Linked DNA regions of Homo sapiens: regions 2, 3, 4 and 5 are each linked to region 1. The links are contacts of gene promoters, found by promoter capture Hi-C in blood cells and fetal thymus (Javierre and others, 2016). All regions are on one chromosome and are shown on one strand. The core of a region is centred on a gene start or on the middle of the fragment in contact, and the rest is flanking DNA. Distances in the headings are between cores, read along the strand shown. Region 1 holds the start of TMED9 (transmembrane p24 trafficking protein 9). Region 2 has its middle 18 kb from the start of N4BP3. Region 3 has its middle 23 kb from the start of FGFR4. Region 4 has its middle 58 kb from the start of N4BP3. Region 5 has its middle 8.8 kb from the start of MXD3.

The links. Contacts are between HindIII fragments. The CHiCAGO score rates a contact against its expected background, and 5 or more counts as called.
Region 2: a fragment that was not itself captured here is called in contact with the fragment with the promoter of TMED9 in region 1 in 1 of 17 cell types (total B cells); the score reaches 5.6 in total B cells.
Region 3: a fragment that was not itself captured here is called in contact with the fragment with the promoter of TMED9 in region 1 in 1 of 17 cell types (neutrophils); the score reaches 5.1 in neutrophils.
Region 4: a contact is called between a fragment that was not itself captured here and the fragment with the promoter of TMED9 in region 1, in 5 of 17 cell types (naive B cells, total B cells, total CD4 T cells and 2 more). The highest score is 9.1, in naive B cells.
Region 5: a fragment that was not itself captured here is called in contact with the fragment with the promoter of TMED9 in region 1 in 2 of 17 cell types (naive B cells and total CD8 T cells); the score reaches 5.9 in naive B cells.

What each region holds. Positions count from the first base shown.
Region 1 is chr5:177,590,631-177,593,452 of GRCh38, reverse strand. TMED9 (transmembrane p24 trafficking protein 9) reads right to left here and starts at 1,250. Exons shown (of 5, transcript NM_017510.6): 1 at 1,055-1,250; 2 at 778-878. The coding sequence starts at 1,238. RefSeq lists an enhancer at 1-45. The HindIII fragment of the contact is 2,414 bases long and covers 1-2,237 here.
Region 2 is chr5:178,093,829-178,096,650 of GRCh38, reverse strand. No RefSeq gene overlaps it. Among named protein-coding and RNA genes, the nearest start is that of N4BP3, 18 kb to the left of the region's middle. The HindIII fragment of the contact is 8,743 bases long and covers 1-2,822 here.
Region 3 is chr5:177,108,737-177,111,558 of GRCh38, reverse strand. No RefSeq gene overlaps it. Among named protein-coding and RNA genes, the nearest start is that of FGFR4, 23 kb to the right of the region's middle. RefSeq lists an enhancer at 826-1,325. The HindIII fragment of the contact is 6,039 bases long and covers 1-2,822 here.
Region 4 is chr5:178,054,416-178,057,237 of GRCh38, reverse strand. It overlaps the pseudogene FAM153CP and the pseudogene RPL19P9. Among named protein-coding and RNA genes, the nearest start is that of N4BP3, 58 kb to the left of the region's middle. The HindIII fragment of the contact is 2,854 bases long and covers 1-2,822 here.
Region 5 is chr5:177,319,268-177,322,089 of GRCh38, reverse strand. No RefSeq gene overlaps it. Among named protein-coding and RNA genes, the nearest start is that of MXD3, 8.8 kb to the right of the region's middle. RefSeq lists enhancers at 1,151-1,650, 1,651-2,152. The HindIII fragment of the contact is 1,134 bases long and covers 776-1,909 here.

The DNA of each region.
Region 1 (2,822 bases), core at 1-2,500:
GAGAGTCTGACATTAGGGTGGCAAGTGACTGACTGCTCTTGGGAAGGGCTTTCCTTTATAGCTTATGCCCTTTCAACTTTTTTGGTGTGAGTTGTTTTTTGGGGGGTTCTTTTTTGTTTTTGTTTTTGAGACAGAGTCTCACTCTGTCGTCCTGGCTGGAGTGCAGTGATGCTATCTCAGCTCACTGCAGCCTCAGCTTCCCAGGTTCAAGCAATTATCGTGCCTTAGCCTCCCAAGTATCTGGTATTAGAGGTGTGCGCCACCACACCCGGCTCATTTTTTTTTTTTTTTTTTTTTGTATTTTTACTAGAGACGGGGTTTGCCAGACGGAGGTTGCCCAGGCCGGTCCTGAACTCCCGGCCTCAAGTGATCCACCCGCCTCGGCATCCCAAAGTGCTGGGATTACAGGCAAGAGCCACCACACCCCGCCATGAGTTTTTTAACGAAAAGTGACAGAAGGTGAGAGCTGAAGGGTTTTGCCGTTCGTTTTAATATCCTTACTTGGGAAGATTAAAAGCTGCTCATTTTGTGGGGAAAGTATCATGTTCTGTGAAATCTTAAAGTCTAGATGACTTTAAGAGTTGACAAAACTCTTTGATTTTTATCACCACAATTAATCCGCCCATTTCACAGACCGGGCGGGGTCTGCAAGTCAGCAGGATATTCCCACAACATCAACTGTCTCTCCCACTTTAGCAGATGCAGGAACTAGAAGAGGAAGTACCGGAGCCCGCCTAGCTGAGAGGCTGGCGGAGAGGAGGGGGGCGGTTGGCTCACCTTGTCCTCTGGGTCCTTCACCTCCACAAACATGCCAAGCCCCGGGGTGGCCGGCTGGTACTCCTCCCGCTGCTTGTCATACAGCTGCGTCCGGTAGTTTCCTTGAGGGAAGCAGGGCGAGCCCAGGTCAGAGGAGCGCGAGGTGGCATGGGTTCCGCGACCGCCTGGGCACGGCGAGGCCGTCTCCTCCCGGCTCTAGAGAGCTGACTGTCTCGCATCCCCCGCCCCAAGACCACGGTCACGTTCCAAACTCGCCCCTTCCTCCCCGCCCCCGCACCTATGACCATGGTCTCGTCCGGGATCTCCTCAATAAAGCACTTCTTCTCCGTCTCTCCGATGTGAAAGTAGAGCGCGCTTCCGCGCGTCGCCAGCCACAGCACCAGCAGGAGGGTCCGCATCACTCTACCCAGCCCGGTTCCGGGCCGGGGCCGGACGAGCAGCACGCCCAGCTCCACAGCCATCTTGCTCCACCTGCCTGCGCAGCCGCAGCCGGCCGCGCCACGTCGCCCTGCCGCCGCCGCGGTGCCTGCCGGGACCGCGAGTTCCGCCGGGTGGACCACAAATCCCGAGATGTCCCGCGGCCCTGGCGCGGCAGTACCTGATTGGGGCGCGGCTTTTACCTGAGAGAGAGCGGGTGCCCTAGAATAAAAACTTATTTCCGTTGACTCTCTTCATGGCCTGGCAACTGACGATGGTTACCAGCTTTTCATAGATGAAACTGAGGTCGTTTGTTTGAGGTTGCGGAGCGAATTGCGAACAGAGACAGGATTCGAACCTAGGATCCCTGACTTTCCTTGGCACAGCATCTACCAGTCTTGATTTGCTTCTACCTTTAAAAATGAATTTAAAGAGAACGACCAAATAATGCACAAATGTATTATCAAAAAAGATTAAAAGAAATAAAAGGCAAGGTCTCCCATTACCACTTCTTTGTCCTCATACCCTGTCCACTCCTAAATCGGGTGTTACCCTCTCAAGCATTTCTCCGATCACACACACACACAAACACACACACAGCCTCTGCTGCCAGATCCCAACTGCAATGGCTCGTTACTAGCAATTCTACAGAAATAGAAAGGATCATAAGAGAGTACTATGAGCAAATATAAGCCAACAAATTGGATAACGTAGATGAAATGGACAAATTCATAGAAATGCAAAACTGACTCAGAATAGATAATATAATCTGAATAAACCTATAACTAGTGAGGAGATTGAATCAGTAATTTAAAAAAAATCATCCTTACTTAATATAGTTAAGATGTCAATACTATCCAAAGCAATCTACAGATTTAATGCAATTCCTGTCAAAATCCCAATGACATTTTTTGTAGAAACAGAGAAACTCATTCTACAATTCATATACTCTCAAGGGATTTCGATTAGCCAAAACAATCCTGAAAAATAAGAATAAAGCTGAAGAACTCACACTTCCTGATTTCAAAACTTACTTCCAAGCTTCAGTCATCAAGACAGTGTGGTACTGGCATATAGACAGACATATAGACCAATGGAATACAATAGAGAGCCCCAAGATATGCCCTCCCATATATGGTCAAATAATTTTTAACAAGGAGACCAAGCCCATTCAATGCGGGGAGGAGGGACAGTCTTTCTAACAAATGGTGCTGGGAAAACTGGATATCCACATGCAAAAAAGTGAAGGTGGTTCCTTCTCTAACACCATAGATAAAAATTCACCCAAAAAGACCCACAACTTTTAAAATCCCAAAGCATAAAACTCATAGAAAACATATGGCAAAGGGTTTACCACATCGGATTTGGCAACAGACTTCCTGGATATGACACTAAAGGCACAGGCAACAAAAGAAAAAATAGACAAATTGGACTTTATGAAAATTAAAACATTTTGTGCATCAAAAGACTCTGTAGCAGAGTAAAGAGGCAACCCACAGAATGGAAGAAAATATTTGCAAATCATATATCTGACAAAGGATTAATATCCAGAATATGCAGAGACTCCTAAAACTCAGCAACAAAATAAGAACAATCTCATTCAAAAACCACAACAAAGGGCTTGAATA
Region 2 (2,822 bases), core at 133-2,632, 500 kb before region 1:
GAGGAGGGAGAACCGACATGAAGCCATCTGAAGAGTGGCCACGGAGGAGGGAGGACCGACATGAAGCCATCTGAAGAGTGGCCACGGAGGAGGGAGGACCGACATGAATCCATGTGAAGAGTGGCCACGGAGGAGGGAGGACCGACATGAAGCCATCTGAAGAGTGGCCACGGAGGAGGGAGGACCGACGTGAATCCATCTGAAGAGAGGCCACCGAGGAGGGAGGACCGACATGAAGCCATCTGAAGAGTGGCCACGGAGGAGGGAGGACCGACGTGAATCCATCTGAAGAGAGGCCACCGAGGAGGGAGGACCGACATGAAGCCATCTGAAGAGTGGCCACGGAGGAGGGAGGACCGACATGAAGCCATCTGAAGAGTGGCCACGGAGGAGGGAGGACCGACATGAATCCATGTGAAGAGTGGCCACGGAGGAGGGAGGACCGACATGAAGCCATCTGAAGAGTGGCCACGGAGGAGGGAGGACCGACATGAAGCCATCTGAAGAGTGGCCACGGAGGAGGGAGGACCGACGTGAATCCATGTGAAGAGTGGCCACGGAGGAGGGAGGACCGACGTGAAGCTATCTGAAGAGTGGCCACGGAGGAGGGAGGACCGACGTGAAGCCATCTGAAGAGTGGCCACGGAGGAGGGAGGACCGACATGAATCCATCTGAAGAGTGGCCACTGAGGAGGGAGGACCGACATGAAGCCATCTGAAGAGTGGCCACGGAGGAGGGAGGACCGACATGAAGCCATCTGAAGAGTGGCCACGGAGGAGGGAGGACCGACATGAATCCATGTGAAGAGTGGCCACGGAGGAGGGAGAACCGACATGAAGCCATCTGAAGAGTGGCCACGGAGGAGGGAGGACCGACATGAAGCCATCTGAAGAGTGGCCACGGAGGAGGGAGGACCGACATGAAGCCATCTGAAGAGTGGCCACGGAGGAGGGAGGACCGACATGAAGCCATCTGAAGAGTGGCCACGGAGGAGGGAGGACCGACGTGAAGCTATCTGAAGAGTGGCCACGGAGGAGGGAGGACCGACGTGAATCCATCTGAAGAGAGGCCACCGAGGAGGGAGGACCGACGTGAAGCCATCTGAAGAGTGGCCACGGAGGAGGGAGGACCGACATGAATCCATGTGAAGAGTGGCCACTGAGGAGGGAGGACCGACATGAATCCATGTGAAGAGTGGCCACTGAGGAGGGAGGACCGACGTGAAGCCATCTGAAGAGTGGCCACGGAGGAGGGAGGACTGACGTGAATCCATCTGAAGAGTGGCCACGGAGGAGGGAGGACTGACGTGAATCCATCTGAAGAGTGGCCACGGAGGAGGGAGGACTGACGTGAATCCATCTGAAGAGTGGCCACGGAGGAGGGAGAACCGACATGAAGCCATCTGAAGAGTGGCCACGGAGGAGGGAGGACCGACATGAAGCCATCTGAAGAGTGGCCACGGAGGAGGGAGGACCGACATGAAGCCATCTGAAGAGTGGCCACGGAGGAGGGAGGACTGACGTGAATCCATCTGAAGAGTGACCATGGAGCAGGGAGGACCGATGTGAAGCCATCTGAAGAGTGACCATGGAGGAGGGAGGACTGACGTGAATCCAGCATGTGAGCCCGGGAGATGGCACATCCAGAACCAGTGGGTGCAAGGCCCAGGGCAGCCGAAGTCTTCTCCACCTAAGGGGTTTCGGCAGAGTTGTCTAAAACTCAATACTCCGCCTTACTACAGACCGTGTTCCCCACCAGAAGAACTGAGCTCACTTACGCAGTCAACAAATACCACCTATGGGCTGTCCCCACTTGGATGTTGGCTGGGCTCCACAACTTCATAGGTCCTGAACAAGATGCTTGATTTCCCTCTTCGAACCTGTCTTCCTCACTGCAGTCTGTGCTACGACCATCCACTCCATAGCGGAAGCCCAAACCCGCTAGTAGCCTCAATTTCTTCCCTCGCCTCGTATCACACCCCTCCCATCCCATTCATGAACAAACTCTATAGATTCTCTCTCCAGATATGTCTCACATCCCTCCACTTCTTTTGTCTCTGCAGCCCTCAGTGCAAGCGCCTGCCCCCTCCCACCTGGCTTCCTGCAGGAACCACCCAGCTTGCCTCCTTGCTTCCTGTCTCACTCCACCTAGTCCATTCTCTACACAGCAGCCGAAGTGGCTTTCTAAGCCTTGAATCTGGTCATGTTCCTTCTCTGCTTCATTGTTTCCAGTGGCTTCCCGCAGCCCCCTCTTTACCATGTCCTATCAGGTCATAGCTGCCGTGGCTCCATCCTGACTCTGACCTCATCTTCTCCCACTGTCCCGTTATTCAAGCTCCAGTCACACTGGCCCACCGCAGGGCCTTTACACTTGCTGCATCTCTATTGTCCTTACCTAGGGTAATTTTTCTCTAGAGCACAGGCCTCATGGAACATACTGTGAGTCAGCGCTTCCCAACCTTTTTTTTGAGATGGAGTTTCGCTCTTGTTGCCCAGGTTGGAGTGCAATGGAGCAATCTCGGCTCACCACAACCTCCGCCTCCCAGGTTCAAGCAATTCTCTTGCCTCAGCCTCCCGAGTAGCTGGGATTACAGGCATGCACCACCACGCCCGGCTAATTTTGTATTTTTAGTAGAGACGGGGTTTCTCCATGTTGAGGCTGGTCTCGAACTCCTGACCTCAGGTGATCCGCCCGCCTCGGCCTCCCAAAGTGCTGGGATTACAGGCGTGAGCCACTGCACCCAGGCTTCCCAACCATTTTAACATCAGGACATTCAGAAATTTTACTTCATTTGAGGCTGGGCACAGTGGCTCACACCTGT
Region 3 (2,822 bases), core at 164-2,663, 480 kb after region 1:
TGCGATCTTGGCTCACTGCAACCTCCGCCTCCCAGGTTCAAGCAATTCTCTGCCTCAGTCTCCCAAGTAGCTGGGACTACAGGCGCCCGCCACCACGCCCAGCTAATTTTTTGTATTTTTAGTAGAGACGGGGTTTCACCATCTTGGCCAGGCTGGTCTTGAGCTCCTGACCTTGTGATCCCCCGCCTCAGTCTCCCAAAGTGCTGGGATTACAGGTGTGAGCCACTGCGCCCAGCCCCCTTTTATTTTTATTTTTATTTTGTTTTTGAGAGGGAGTCTTGCTCTGTCATCCAGGCTGGAGTGCAGTGGCATGATCTCGGCTCACTGCAACCTCCACCTCCTGGGCTCAAGCGATTCTCCTGCCTCAGCCTCCCGAGTAGCTGGGCTACCTAGTAGCCCACCCACACCCAGCTAATTTTTGTATTTTTAGTAGAGACAGGGTTTCACTGTGTTGGCCAGGCTCATCTCAAACTCCTGACCTCAGGTGATCTGCCCGCCTCAGCCTCCCAAAGTGCTGGGATTACAGGCATGAACCACTGTGCCCGGCCTCCCTTTTATTTATTTATTTATTTATTTATTTATTTATTTATTTATTTCAGACAGGAGCTTGCTCTGTGTTCCAGGCTGGAGTGCAGAGACTCAATATCGTAGCTCACTGCAACCTACTGGGCCAGATCCTGAAGGCCTCCTCTGCGTGTTAAGGAGCTTGGACTATTCCAAGCAGAGACTGTTCTCTCTGTAAGAGTGATCCTACCACCTCAGCCTCCCAAGTAGCTGGGACTACAGGCACGTGTTCTCGCACTCGGCTAATTGTTTTATTTTTTTTGTAGAGACAGGGTCTCACTGTGTTGCCCAGACTGGTCCTGAACTCCTGGCCTCAAGTCATTCTCCCGCCTCAGCCTCCCAAAATGCTGGGATTTCAGGCGTGAAATGCCATGCCTGGCCTAGCAAATCCTCTTATTCTGCATCTGGCCTTCCACTTTTCTCTATCCCCTTGGCCAAGCTGGGAGCCTCAGAATGTAGCTGTGCAGAGGCGCTGCTGGCCCCAGACCAGAGAGTGGGAGACAGCGTGGATGGTCACTCTGTGGATGCTCTGGGGCTCTTACTTCTGTCTTCTTGGGAGGCCACACATGTACTTTGGGGGGCTGTTCCGGTTCCCGGCTCTGAGTCTAGCCAGGCGCTGCAACAATCCCCTCCACTGCCTGCCCATCTGCACCAGCCCCTTGCTTTCCTGTCTTGTCACTTGCCTTAGGATAAACCCACAGCCTACGAGGCCCCCTGGGTTTGGCCTCATCTGGCACCGTGTTCCCCCTCACTCTTGTGCTCTGTCCACGGAGCTGGATCGGATGCCCTCACCTTCGCCCTGCACCTGCCTGCCTCCAGACCTTTGCAGAGACCATTCTGTCTGCCTGGAATGCATTTCCTCCCACTCTTCACAAGGCCAAGGCTCTCCTCCTTCAACTCAAACATCATTCCCTCAGGGAACCCTTCCCGGAGCCGGAGCCGGAGCCGGAGCCGGCCAGGATCAGTCCCCACCGTCAGCACTCACAGCTGCAGGCTGTTGACCTTCAGAGCTCTGCGTTTCATTACAGTCAGCATTTTCCTGGGTGTTTGTTGAATATCTGTCTCCATTTGTAGATACGAAACTCCTCAGGGCAGGGGCCAGGTCTGTCTTCACTGGGTATACCCAGTGACTAGAAGAGTACCTGGCCTATGGTAGGTGCCCAGTAAACATTTCTTGATTTACTGAGCCTTTCAATTCCCAACACTCCACAACTCCACACCCCTGCACGCCTTCCTCTATCTGGTCAGTGCTCAGTGCTTCGTTCTTTTTTTTTTTTCTTCTAATACAGAGTTTTGCTCTTGTTGCCCAGGCTGGAGTGCAATGGCACAATCTCAGCTCACTGCAACCTCTGCCTCCCGGGTTCCAGCAATTCTCCTGCCTCAGCCTCCGGAGTAGCTGGGATTACAGGCGCGTGCCACCACGCCCGGCTAATTTTTGTATTTTTAGTAGAGACAGGGTTTCACCATGTTGGCCAAAATGGTTTTGATCTCCTGATCTCGAGATCCATCCGCCTCGGCCTCCCAAAGTGCTGGGATTACAGGCGTGAGACACTACGCCAGGCCTCATTCTCCATTCTTATCACCCTGCCCCCCAGACAGTCGTGCTAATAGTTTTGTGTGTGCGTTCTTGGAAAATGTGTGTTTTCCGTGTCATCATTTCGTGCAAGTGGCTTTGTGCTTTAGATCTCATTCCATTTCTTCCTCTTGCCTCTCAGCACGAGATTTCTAAGTCCCCCATGTGGCTCTGTGTCCACCGGGTCCTCCACACATTCTGCTGATCCGCCTTCCAGTGAGGAACCCCAGGCTGGATCCAACCCCTCCTCCTGCCTTCCCCACACGGTCACATGGGAGGATCTCTGTGTGTTGTGTGTGTGTGTGTGTGTGTGTGTGTGTGTGTGTGTGTGTGTTTGGGGGCAGTTATATGTTCAGGGCAACATTTCCAGGTCATAGGGCATGTGTGTATATACTTAGCTGAATGCTCCTAGACTTCGCTGGGACAGCTTCAGCCCCCAGTCCAGGAGAGCCTCTCGTCTCCTTGCCAGCACCTGGAGTTCTCCAGCTTTTTTTTTTTTTTTTTTTTGAGACGGAGTCTCTCTCTGTCACCCAGGCTGGAGTGCAGTGGGACGATCTCAGCTCACTGCAAGCTCCGCCTCCTGGGTTCACGCCATTCTCCTGCCTCAGCCTCCTGAGTAGCTGAGATTACAGGTGTGCACCACCATGCCTGGTTAATTTTTGTATTTTTAGTAGAGACGGGGTTT
Region 4 (2,822 bases), core at 153-2,652, 460 kb before region 1:
TAACTCATGGGGAGGCCCTCTTTCTCTTGGAGAGCACAGAGGAAAATTAAGGGCTTCCTAGCAACAAAGCAGTTTGTCAGAAAGTCATGAGTGAGCATGGCAGGGCTGTGTGGGAAGTGTGTGTTGGACAATACGACACACTGGCTTCTCACTGCTGCTGCCTCTGACCAATAATACATGTTTTCAGAAGGCCTTGTTTTCATGTACACAATGGACTATAATTGTAGGGAAAAGAAAGAGAGATCAGACTGTTACTGTGTCTATGTAGAAAGGGAAGACATAAGAAACTCCATGTTAACCCGTACCCTGAACAATTGCTTTGCCCTGTGATGCTGCTAATCTGTAACTTTGCCTCAACCTTGAGCTCACAGAAACATGTGTTGTATGGAATCAAGGTTAAAGGGATCTAGGGCTATGCAGGATGTGCCTTGTTAACAACATGTTTCCAAGCAGTATGCTTGGTAAGAGTTATCGCCATTCTCCAGTCTCAATAAACCAGGGGCACAATGCACTGCGGAAAGCCACAGGGAACTCTGCCCTGGGAAGCCGGGTATTGTCCAAGGTTTCTCCCTATGTGAAAATCTGAAATATGGCCTCATGGGATGGGAAAGACCTGACCGTCCCCCAGCCCGACATCTGTGGAGGGTCTGTGCTGAGGAGGATTAGTAAAAGAGGAAAGCCTCTTGCAGTTGAGATAGAGGAAGGCCACTGTCTCCTGCCTGCCCCTGGGAACTGAATGTCTCGGTATAAAACCTGATTGTACATTTGTTCAGTTTTGAGATAGGAGAAAAACCGCCCTGTGGCGGGAGGTGAGACATGTTGGCAGCAATGCTGCTTTATTATTCTTTACTCCACTGAGATGTTTGGGTGGAGAGGAACATAAATCTGGCCTACGTGCACATCCAGGCATAGTACCGTCCCTTGAACTTATTTGTGACACAGATTCCTTTGCTCACATGTTTTTTTTTTTTAAGGCTTGTTTTATTTTCATGGCTGATCTATGTAATCACAGAGGCCAGTATGTACAGACAAAGGGGGAGCTTTTATTTCTTGGTCTCTTCCTCCTTGGATAAAGTCTTGATGAACTCCTCCTTCTTGGCCTGGAGGCGCTCTTCAGGGCACTTGCCTGCTTCCTTGGTCTTAGACCTGCGGGCCTCAGCCTGGTCAGCCAGGAGCTTCTTGCGGGCCTTGTCTGCCTTCAGCTTGTGGATGTGTTCCATGAGAATCCGCTTGTCTTTGAACACATTCCCCTTCACCTTCAGGTACAGGCTGTGATACGTGTGGCGATCGATCTTCTTAGATTCACGGTATCTTCTGAGCAGCCGGCGCAAAATCGTCATTCTCCTCATCCATGTGACCTTCTCTGGCATTCGGGCATTGGCTGTACCCTTCTGCTCACCTATGGCCACGTGCCTGCCCTTCCGGCGGGCCAAGGTGTTTTTCCGGCATCGAGCCCGGGAATGGACCGTCACAGGCTTGCGGATGATCAGCCCGTCTTTGATGAGCTTCCGGATCTGCTGACGGGAGTTGGCATTGGCGATTTCATTGGTCTCACTGGGGTCTAACCAGACCTTCTTCTTGCCACAGCGGAGGACACTAGAGGCGAGCCTCTTCTGAGGCCCGAGCATGCTCATGGCTGCGGCCGCAGCAGCGAAAGGAAAGGCTCACAGGTTTTCTTGCTGACACCCTGCTCTCCTACCGCATTCCTCTTGCTGAGACACTGAAAATGGTAATCAATAAACTGAGGGAACTCAGAGGCCGGTGCCAGTGCTGGTCCTCCGTATGCTGAGTGCCGGTCTCCTGGGCCCGCTGTTCTTTCTCTGTACTTTGTCTCCGTGTCTTATTTCTTTTCTCAGTCTCTCATCCCACCTGACAAGATATACCCACAGGTATGGATGGGCAGGCTACCCCTTCATATAATTACTGCAAAGGTGCAGTGAGACCTATTTTTTTTTTTTTTTTTTTTGAGACAGAGTCTCACTCTGTCACCCAGGCTGGAGTGCAGTGGTGCGATCTCAGCTCACTGCAAGCTCCACCTCCCGGGTTCACGCCATTCTCCTGCCTCAGCCTCCCGAGTACCTGGGACTACAGGAGCCCACAACCATGCCTGGCTAATTTTTTGTATTTTTAGTAGAGACGGGGTTTCACCGTGGTCTCGATCTCCTGACCTCGTGATCTGCCCACCTCAGCCTCCCAAAGTGCTGGGATTACAGGTGTGAGCCACCACGCTCGGCCTTTTTTGTATTTTTAATAGAAACAGGGTTTCACCGTGTTAGCCAGGATGGTCTTGATCTCCTGACCTCGTGATCCACCTGCCTCGGCCTCCCAAAGTGCTGGGATGACAGGCGTGAGCCGCCATGCGTGGCCCAGATTAAATACTTCTTTAGAAGATGGACTAGAAATGGGTCATCAGAAATTGTTTTTACTTACATATGAAGAATTCTAATCTTCAAAAAATTTTAGAACTCAGTCAGAACTTGAGAACTTCTTTCAGTAGGTGCTGTGATTCAATAACCAGAATTCTGCTTTACTTTATAGTTACACAAGTATTTCTGTCATTTTCCTACTAAATTACATGAAGGGGGTTGTCTGCTTATGAGCTGCACCACCGAGCAGCATGCCTATCAGTGAGAAGGTGCCTGACAATTCTCAGTTGAAATGTCCTGACGAAGTTCCCCCAGAAATTTGTGAGTACTCAACTGTATTAAAACTAAATATACTGTTTTTCATGACAAATAGTCACTATTTAGTAAAATGATTACTGTGCTATAATAGAACAAGTCCTTAGCCCAAAATTAAATGGCCACAGATTGACATATGCC
Region 5 (2,822 bases), core at 93-2,592, 270 kb after region 1:
ATGGATTCACCAAATTAGTTGAAGATCAACTAATTTGAAGATCAGATCAAAGATCAGAGGACCTTGGGAGGAAACACAGAGATGGAGATTTATAAAGAGATTTATAAAGAGGAGATTTTTAAAGAGAATGGGCCCGGCATGATGGCTCATGCCTGTAATCCCAGTACTTTGGGAGGCCGAGGCAGGCGGATCACGAAGTTGAGATCGAGACCATCTTGGCCAACATGTTGAAACCCCGTCTCTACTAAAAATACAAAAAAATTAGCTGGGTGTGGTGGCGTGTGCCTGTAGTCCCAGCTACTTGGGAGGCTGAAGCCGGAGAATGGCTTGAACCTGGGAGGCAGAGGTTGCAGTGAGCCGAGATCGTGCCACTGCACTCTAGCCTGGTGACAGAGCGAGACTCTGTCTGAAAAAAAAAAAAAAATTAAAAAAATACAAAATTAGACGGGCATGGTGGTGCGTGCCTGTAGTCCCAGCTACTCGGGAGGCTGAGGCAGGAGAATCACTTGAACCTGGGAGGCGGAGGTTGCAGTGAGCTGAGATCGTGCCACTGCACTCCAGCCTGGGCAACAGAGTAAGGCTCTGTCTCAAAAAAAAAAAAAAAAAAAAAAAAAAAGAAAAGAAAAAAAGGAATATGGAGAATATAAATGGAAATCAGCAACCAAAAGATAACTGAAAAAATCCTTTGTATCTGGAAACTAAAAACATACTACCAAATAACATTCGGACTTAAGAATAAATCATAATGAAAGCCCCACACTAAAAGAGGAAAGCTTCAGGACCTGGCTAAAGGAAGAGAGGTTTGTGGCTGGAACAAGAACATTTGCAGGGTGCCCGGATCCCTTGAAGAGGACACCCTGACACTGACCGTGGGAACAGCCTACGCTACACATGCAGGCGTTCAGGTGGAGTACTCTTCCCATACTCCAGAGAACAGGCTGAAACTTTTGACTCAGCAAAGGCCAGAAGGAAAAGGGGAAGTGGTTTATCAAGTGCCTGCTGGAGCATATAACATCCCAGACACTGAGCACTTGCATACAAGTGACCGACATGGCTGGCCCCACCGCTTGCCAGTGCTGCCTGGTCAGTGGGTTAGACTCATCCCATGACGCTAGCAGGGTAGTTGCTCTTGTTGTCTTTGGAAGGACCTTTTCTCTCCTTTTCTTTTTTGAGATGGAGTCTTGCTCTTGTTGCCTAGGCTTTAGTGCAATGGCACAGTCTTGGCTCATTGCAACCTCCGCCTCCTGGGTTCAAGCGATTCTCCTGCCTCAGCCTCCCGAGTAGCTGGGATTACAGGCATGTGCCACCACACCCGGCTAATTTTGTATTTTTAGTAGAGACGAGGTTTCTCCATGTTACTCAGGCTGGTATCAAACTCCCGACCTTAGGTGATCCACCTGCTTTGGCCTCCCAGAGTGCTGGGATTACAGGCGTGAGCCACCATGCCCGGCCATGGAAGGACTTTTTCAAGAAACCGATGTGGTCAGTTTTCCGTATACCTCCAGGTGTTCTGTTCTGGCGTCTGGGTGCTCCACCAGCACGGAGAAAGACGAGTGCCCTGTGGCCTGAGTCCCAGGCACTGAACACTCTAGCCTGGGCAGCAGCTCCGGGAGGACTCAGCTTCCCGAGCACCGCCCTCAGGTTGGGAATCCACAGCAGCACCCACAACACACCACACAGTGCACCAGCCATCAAGGGGGCGCACAAATGACCAGGGCTGCCTTCCAGGCAATGGCCACTGCCTGGTGGATCCAGTTAGTAAGCCAAGAGCAGTTTGAGGACATACCATCTCCATCTGGCATCAAACCACCCTGCTCACTGCGCCAGTTGTTGTAAGGACACCTTGGATTTGTTGTCCTTAGATATGATGTAACAGACACAGAAATGACTGCCATGGTGGGAAGAAGCTTATACTCACAGTTCCCTAGAAACAGGCGGCACCGCACACTAACACGGGCCACACGGGGAAGCACCAGTGTTGGTCGGGGGCAGAGGGAGGGAGGGGAACTGTGGGGCAAGAGCCTTTATTGTGGTTTGCTTAGGAAGGAACCTGAGAGGCAGAGTGAGCAGGTCTAGGATTGCCTAGCTTGAATAATTTCAATGGGTTTGGGGTAGGATGTCCCTAGTTGTCCAGTCTCTGGGGGATAGTGGTGCAGCGTGTAAGAGCCCAGTAAAGGAGGTGGTTGGAAGGTATGGGCTCTGGATTGGTTAGTATGAATATGAAAGGCACGGCACGCTTGCAGGTGAGTGAGTGAGTTACTATCTCTAGGAATTGGATGAGAGGATGGAGTATGATGAACCTTTGATTCCTGGAGGGCCATGAGTTCACTGTGGTATGGAAATGCAGCTGTGCTGTGATCAGTTAGTGGAGGCAAAAATTAATAATGAATTTTAGAAATGATGGATGCAACTCCCAAGGAGTTAGTTCACTGGACGTATAAGGAAATGCAAAGTAACTAGAAACAAGCTAAATATACCATCCTATTGTTCTCTGTAGCAACAATGAAGGCAAAAGATGGTGATAGGGCAGATCCTGAGATTGGGCCAAGCTTGGATTGTGGCTGGTCTGAGCTACAGCTATTCCCAGGGCCACTTTTGAGGGGGAAAATTATGCTGAAACAACAGTGAAGATGGTTAGAATGATTCACAAGAGAGTGGGGAAAACAAAGGGAAGAGTCAAGATACTCATCCCAGCAGGATGGAATCTTTAAAGGGTTCTTAATGAAATGGACTGAATAAAGTAGGCATTGATGGGGTCAAAACAAAGGTCATCTCCAACACCCTTGGAAGTCCTTGGGTGGACAGATGGGAGCTTCTGCTGG